2 separate regions of the Homo sapiens genome follow, and region 1 is linked to region 2. Evidence: promoter capture Hi-C in human tissues and cell types (Jung and others, 2019). All regions are on one chromosome and are shown on one strand. Each heading gives the region's core, a stretch centred on a gene start or on the middle of the fragment in contact. The rest is flanking DNA. Distances are from core to core; before and after follow the strand shown. Region 1 has its middle 6.2 kb from the start of STK35. Region 2 holds the start of NOP56 (NOP56 ribonucleoprotein).

What was found. Contacts are between HindIII fragments. The study calls those that stand out against the background at their distance.
Region 1: a fragment that was not itself captured here is called in contact with the fragment with the promoter of NOP56 in region 2 in 1 of the 25 tissues and cell types used here (spleen).

Annotation. Positions count from the first base shown.
Region 1 is chr20:2,093,833-2,097,380 of GRCh38, reverse strand. No RefSeq gene overlaps it. Among named protein-coding and RNA genes, the nearest start is that of STK35, 6.2 kb to the left of the region's middle. RefSeq lists enhancers at 1,703-2,202, 2,203-2,704. The HindIII fragment of the contact is 4,445 bases long and covers 1-3,524 here.
Region 2 is chr20:2,650,618-2,654,610 of GRCh38, reverse strand. NOP56 (NOP56 ribonucleoprotein) reads right to left here and starts at 1,979. Exons shown (of 12, transcript NM_006392.4): 1 at 1,948-1,979; 2 at 1,680-1,769; 3 at 1,218-1,332; 4 at 36-197. The coding sequence starts at 1,950. MIR1292 (microRNA 1292) reads right to left here and starts at 1,834; the gene lies at 1,769-1,834. LOC105372505 (a long non-coding RNA gene) reads left to right here and starts at 2,147. Exons shown (of 5, transcript XR_007067502.1): 1 at 2,147-2,251. It overlaps SNORD110 (small nucleolar RNA, C/D box 110), which reads right to left and starts at 399; the gene lies at 325-399. RefSeq lists an enhancer at 1,266-1,355 and a silencer at 1,856-2,495. The HindIII fragment of the contact is 12,812 bases long and covers 1-3,993 here.

The DNA of each region.
Region 1 (3,548 bases), core at 53-2,552, 560 kb after region 2:
ACCCTTGCCCTTCCCTCCCCACCCTAGTAATACACAGTGTCTACTCCTGTCTTTATGTCCATGAGCACCCATTGTTTACTCCCACATATAAGTGAGAACATGCGGTATTTGGTTTTTGGTTTTCTGTTCCTGAGTTAATTTGCTTAGGATAATGGCCTCCAGCTGTATCCCCCACCTGAATTTTGAGAGAGATTGAATATGAAGTTCTGGGAGGACCACAAGGAGTGTGAATCCTTTTATATGCTGTTAAGAGGGCTGGACTGCTTGATAAATCATTTGATGCCTTGACCAAATTTTTAGTTTTTGTTTTTGTCTTGCTTAACTTATGGAAGTAACCTATACTTTACTGTTAGGACTAATAGCCAACATTTACTAAAGTTTTCTGTCTGCCAGGCACAGGGATTAACAAAGAATTACGACAATTCCATGAGGTAGTGACTTTCATTAGCCCCATTTTACAGATGAAGAAACCGAATGTGAAGCTGGCACAGCTGGGTTTCAAACTGAGGCCCCAGACACTCCACATCTCTTGATCGCACTCAGCCCCTCCCCAGGCTAAGCAGTGTAAACGTTACAGCGAGCCCTCTTCTACATCTTTCTTGTTGACAAACATGCCTGCCTCAGTATCCCTGGAACCTCAGACAGTACCAAACATCTGACTGAGCTCAATATTTAGTGATAGAAGAAATGTAGAAGAGAAGAGCAGCAGTGAGGTTTTTTGTTTGTTTTTTTAAATGGAGTCTCACTCTGTTGTCCAGGCTGGGGTGCAGTGGCATGATCTCGGCTCCCTGCAACCTCTACCTCCTGGATTCAAATGATTCTCCTCCTCAGCCTCCCGAGTAGCTGGGATTACTGACACCTGCCACCACACCTGGCTAATTTTGTGTGTGTGTGTGTGTTTTAGTAGAGATGGGGTTTCATCATATTGGCCAGGCTGGCCTCGAACTCCTGACCTCAAGTGATCCATCCACCTTGACCTCCCAAAGTGCTGAGATTTCAGGCGTGAGCCACCGTAACCGACCAAGCAGTGAGGTTTTCAGCCCTTTTAGCAGGCCAGGGATGCGGAAGGAAGTCCTTTCTCTGCTGAGCACAGAGAGCTGCATGGAATGTCACATCATTGGTTGTGCTCTCTACACTCAAGGAGTCGCTGACACTGGCTGAATAAAGCAATGGCTACACTTTTACTGTAAGAAAAGTCATTCATTTAACATTTTTTGAACCCTTACTCCTCTATGTGCAAGGCAGTTTGGGAGCTGATGTATGGGGATGAGCAGGAGAAAACTCAGTGTCTGCCTTGAGGGGCTGACACAGACAATATGACAGTGCAGTTATGCAGTCCCACATCACAGTAGACCCATTAGGGACCAGAAAGTAAACAAAAGATAGCAAGGGATGGAGGCTGGGCATGGTGACTCATGCCTGTAATCCCAGCACTTTGGGAGGCCGAGGCAGGCGGATCACCTGAGGTCAGGAGTTCGAGACCAGCCTGACCAACATGGAGAAACCCCGTCTCTACTAAAAATACAAAATTAGCCGGGCATGGTGGCACACACCTGTAATCTCAGCTACTCAGGAGGCTGAGGCACAGGAATCACTTGAACCCAGAAAGCAGAGGTGGCAGTAAGCTGAGATTGCACCATTGCACTACAGCCTGGGCAGCAAGAGCGAAACTCCGTCTCAAAAAAAAAAAAAAAAAAAAAAGATAGCAAGGGATGGGGTCGATGGTATTCTAGAATGGGTGGTTTGGGGAAAGCTTTCTAAGGAGGTGACCATTGAGCAGGGACCTGATTTAAGTTAAAGAATAGGTCAATTGCATCTCTACTGGAAGAGCATTTCAGATCAGAGGGAAGAGCAAAGGCCCTAGGTGGGAGGGAGCAGGCAAGGAGGCCAGTGTGGCCTGAGCTGAGTGAATGGGGGAAGAGTGGTGGGAAACACAGGAAGAGGGATGTGTGGGGCCCCATAACGAGGCAGGGACTCAGGGGCCATGGAAAGAATGGTGGAGTTACTGAGTGCTTGCTATATGCCAAGCACTTACGGTCGGTGATGTGGCTGGACCCCATTGGCCCTCCTTTCACACGAGAGTGCTGAAGCTCGGATAGGTAAGAACCGTCCCAAGTGAGAAGGCAGAATAGTAAGGCTGAGGCTGGTGATCCATCTCTGTACTTCAGGGGGCTGAGGACACCCGAGGGGCAGCCAGCCCTGGGGGTGGTGCCATGGGAAAGCAGGGAGCTTCGTCCTGGGAGGGAAGGGTGGATGGAGTAAAGGAGTGTGGGGGAATGGAAGGTAGGAGACAGGGGGCTGAGACTGCTCCAGGGGGCTGGAAGAGGGATTATGCGGAGTGAGGAGGAAGGATTGGGGCTGAGGATTAAGGACAGAGGTGGCATGGGGGTAGGGGCTAGGAATGAGGTGGTGTGGTGGTTGTAGAAGGGGGAGCCGAGCGTGGGAGAGGGTTAAAGGCAGAGAGGCTGGCACAGGGGTATAGGAGGAGGATCTTGGGAGCAGGAGGTGCTGAAGACTGAAGCTTGAGGTGGCTGCCTCAATGAAGGAGATCCCCTGAGCAGGGAGTACTAGGGAGGCCTGGAGGAGTGTGTGCAGTCGCCTTGGAGAGCTCCCCTCCCATAATGGCTCTGGATTTTCAGAGGGCTCCAGGAAGGCTGTCTCCAGGAAACGCTAGAGCTTGTCATGATGCCTAACACCACACAACTCGCAATAACTCTATATGGGAGAGGCTGTTTTCGTCCCCATTTTATAGATGGGAAGACTGGCCACATGTGGTGGCTCACGCCTGTAATTCCAGCAGTTTGGGAGGAAGAGGTGGGTGGGTCACCTGAAGCCAGGAGTTTGAGACCAGCCTGGCCAGCATGGTGAGACCCTGTCTCTACTGAAAACACACAAATTAGTCAGACGTGGTGACGCATGCCTGTACTCCCAGCTACTTGGGAGGCTGGGGTGGGAGAATTGCTGGAACCTGGGAGGCAGATGTTGCAGTGAGCCAAGATCATGCCCTGCACGCCAGCCTGGGCGACGAGTGAGACTCTGTCTCAAAAGAAAAACAAAGACAACTAGGAAGACTGAGGGTTGGAAGTTGCTACATCACCAATGACCGGAATACCTGGTATTTGGACCCCAGCAGCCTTAGGTTTGGGTATCCATGTTTTCAACCATTAGACCTATGGCTCTCAAGCTTGAGTGCCCAATCCACTGGCATCACCTGGAGAGCTGATTAAAACCCAGATAGCTGGAGCCACCCACAGTGCGACTAATTCAGTAAGTCTCGGGTAGAGCTTGATAATTTGCATTTCTGACACGGTCGCAGATGATGCTGATGTTGACGCTGTTATCCCGGAACCATGCTTTGAGAACCACTACATCACACTGTCATGTTCCTAGACTGAGCACAAAGCAGAGGGAACTGGAGAGGATTTGAGTTCTGGTAAGAATTCGAGGATGAATAGGAGCTGAATGAATTACCTAGGAAACTAAGCAAATAAAACATGAAGCGATTATTAAAGGCAAGAAAACAAAAACAATTGATAAGAAAAACATTG
Region 2 (3,993 bases), core at 730-3,229:
CAGGATAACAGGAATATAACAGATGATGGTCTCACCTCGCAGGATCTCAGCTATGACTCCTCCAGTCTGGCAGTTGTACCCTAACTCCTCCTGTATTGCGGCACCAATCTTGGGATCCCCAACTCCCAAGAGTACTTTCTTCTTTTTGGACGGCAGGTGGGTCTCCAAGAGCAGGCGGAGGTCCTCATGAACAACCCCTCAGGGGAAAGAACACAGTTCCCACTAACAGGCTGAAGGACGATCAACTCTAACATCCCTCAGCTGACTACCCTGGTCCCACCGAGCACGCTGGGATGGCATACCTAGATCCCTCCCCATCAGGCATTGCTCAGAGACATGGAGACATCAGTGATTGCACTCAGGGGATTGACAGATTTGATTCGCAAGTCATCACTGCAAAGCCTGGCCCAGCCATGGGAACAACTGCATTCAGGTCTGATAGCACAAGTGGGCAATAAATAATAGCTTGTAACACACCCTCGAGTATTTCGTAGAATTTGCCTTCTGGAACCAAACCTTTTTTTCTCAGCCTGTGTTTACCCAACTGCCCTTTCCAATCGAACAGAAAGCAGAGAACCAGACACTTGATTGTGTTTAGGCAAAACCTCAGGCACAAGTAGGTGTTAAGCCGACCCCCTTTAAGAAACCCCCCTTTGTCGGCCGGGCACCGTCGCTCGCGCCTGCAACCTCAGCACCTTGGGAGGTCGAGGCGGGCGGATCACGAGGTCAGGAGATGGAGACTAGCCTGGCCAACATGGTGAAACCCCGTCTCTACCAAAAATACAAAATTAGCCGGGTGTGGTGGCTGGCACAGGCCTGTAATCCCAGTTACTCGGGAGGCTGAGGCAGGAGAATCGCCTGAACCAGGGAGGCAGAGGTTGCAGTGAGCCCAGATCTTGCCACTGCACTCCAGCCTGGGGGACAGACTCCATCTCAAAAAAAATAAAAATAAAAAATAGTTTGTCACTACAGTGCCCACAAGGAAACGTTAACACACATTCCACATCGTCTGCTTAAACAGTTTGGTCTAGCACAGTTCCCAGACCTTGAGCTCTGTGAAGACAATTATTTCAAATTACACATTGTATGGCTCAAATACTGCCTCACGCCTATCAGACTCAGAGCCAGCCAAGGACGGCAAATACTATCACAAGCTGCCCGAGAGGATACCGAAAGGAACCACATCTCTCTGTGACACTTGGCGGTGGCCGACTTACCTTCAGACACGGCGTTGGCATTTTCCAAGGCAACCTGGGATGAGGCAAAGGGACAAAAGGCCACCAGACGAACGATGCTGTGGAATTTGCCCAGGTTGAGCACAGACTCCTCCACCTGGGGGGAGAAAGAGGCTAAGTGGTTTCCTTCCCTCCCTCCTGCCTCTGCGGCGCAGTCAAGCAGCGGTTCTCAGCCTTGGAAGCTCTTAAAATATGCTGATACCTGGGCCCCACATCCCAGCTTCTGCTTTAATCGTTCGGGGGCGGCGTCCGGGAGGCTTATTTCTAATTGCTAGAGCGATTCTACCCATGGGTCAAGGTAAAGACCCCCGGATCTAGAGCTTTCCAGGCCCGTCCCCCCGCCCCGAACCGCTCGGCCGGCCACGTGGGAGCGCGCTGTGCATGCTGGGACCCGCGCGATGAGGGTCTGCGGGGCCGCCAAAGGAGCCCACGGATCTCACCCACCTGCGGCTGCAGCAGACTGATCTCCTCCACTTCCTTCAGCGCCAGCAGCGCGTAGCCGACCGCGTGCTCAAACAGCACGTGCAACAGCACCTGGAACGGGAGCCGGGGCGCGAGCGTCAACGCAACCTCAGCGTCTGCCGGAACCCGTTCCCAGGGCAGGCGCAGGCGCAGGCGCAGGCCCAGGCCCAGGCCCAGGCCCTGTCTGCGGCCCGAACGCAGGCCGAAACCCCCACCGTCGCGTCGCCCGCGCCCCGCAACCACTCCTCACCATGGCGCCAGCTCCCGGGTTCGGCTCGCAATGCGGCTAGCGCGCTCCGGCGCGCGGAACCAGGCTCCAGAGGCCACGCCCCCGCCCCCCCGACCAATCGGAGGCCGGGGACGACACCATCTCCGGCCTTTGGAGGGGCCGCCCAGGGTGGTATCGCCCGGAGCGCGGGCTGGGTGGTGCCGAGCGCGGGCGAGCGGGCCTTTTCCGGCCTCTGCAGCTGCGCGGGCGGGCGTGGTTGCCGGGGACGCGCGGCCCCCGGTCGGGCACTGCAGGCGGCGAAACGACTTGGGAAGGCCCTTTCGGGGTAATAGTCCGGTTCCTGATGTTCTTGTCATATGAGTTACGGGCAGCAGAGCTGGGTGAAGTCGGGGCGGGAGGTCCGCGTGGGGCGCGGCGTCCATCCCAGACAGAGACCGCTGCCTAGCCGGCTTCCCGCTTCGTCCGTGGCCTCGGGCCCCAGACCCTGCGCCCCACGTCCCCGGGACCCAGGCGTTCCCGTCCCCTACTCGGGGACGAGCCTCCCCGGCGCCGGGTGGGCGGTGCATCCTTTCCTCCCACCCGTAACGGGAGCGGTGCCTGGCGCGCTCTGGCGCAGACCCTGCTGGGAATGTAGCTCGCGCAGTTTTCTTCGTACTATTAATTTATTTCTTTTTTTTGTTTTTGGTTTTTTTTTTTTAAATGACTGTAGCAGGCAGTAACGTGCGAAAGAAAGACGCTCCAGCGTCTTCCTAGGCCAGTTTCTTGTTGCTGTGCTGCACGGGACCCAGCTCCTTTTGCTGGGCCACGTGTTGCTCCTCCGCTTGGGCGGCCCTGAATTCTGGGCGCTGGTGATCGCTGAGTGAATCGCAGCTGCTTCCCTGTCCTTGAGGGCGTCTTTTGGGCACTCAGGCGACTCTTTAGAAATGAGTTTTGCTTTAATAATTAATATTAACGTTATAAATCCAAAACCTAGTTATACTTAAGTAGCGTATCCCCTGGTATGTTTTAAAGAGTCATTCGAAGGGGATTTTTAAAAATAATGTATAGCTATAAACTGCATTTATACATTTAATTGTTATTTTGTTAAGCGATTGAGTTACTTGACAAAATCCAAGTACATAGTTCACTCACAAATCTAATATGTCAAACCTAAATGTGGTTGGTAAATCTTACTCTCATAATTTCAATATGGTTTACAGATGTGGTTGAATTCTGTTACACATGTCTACTTACGAGTCAGAATCGTTATTCCATTTAATATTTTAAAATGGAATTGCCAAGTTAATCCATACATTAGCATGTTAAATTATTTTAACCGTCGTGAATACATCAAAATAGACGATTCCAAAATGTAATGGAAAATACTAATGCTAATACTTCAATTTACTTCATTATTTCTGCCCTTAATCCTGAATCTTCCTGGAGTTACAGGTGCTTATCCACTAAACCAGGGGTTTTCAAGCAAGAAGTCAGAATGCATTAATGGACAGCATTTAAAAAAATAGGATTGGGTGGGCTATAATCCAGCACTTTAGGAGGCCGAGGCAGGCGGATCACTTAAGATCAGGAGTTCGAGACCAGCCTGGCCAACATGGTGAAACCCCGTCTCTACCAAAAAATAAAAAAATTAGCTGGACGTGGTGGAGCATGTCTGTAATCCCAGCTACTCGGGAGGCTGAGGAAGGAGAATCGCTTGAACCCGGGAGGCAGAGGCTGCACTCTAGCCTGGGCAACAGAGCAAGGCTCTGTCAAAAAAAAAAAAAAAAAAAAAAAAAAGAAAAAGGATTAAAGCGAATAGAAATAAGAGTGTGTTGCTTAGAGTAAGGTGCTGTTCATTGTAAAACTTTTGTCTCAGCTCTACATACATATATAGAAATATGTACACAAATATTTTTCATATATACATATATATGTAACTATATGAACACACTTTTGTGTGTTAAATCAGAATATAAAAAACCTGAGGGTCAATCAATGAGCCAAAAGGTAACCAGTCGTACTCTGGAAAAATTTGGGTCCTCTGGTTACAAAGGAGCTGTCATGAAGTAGTTTGCTGACTTACAGAGA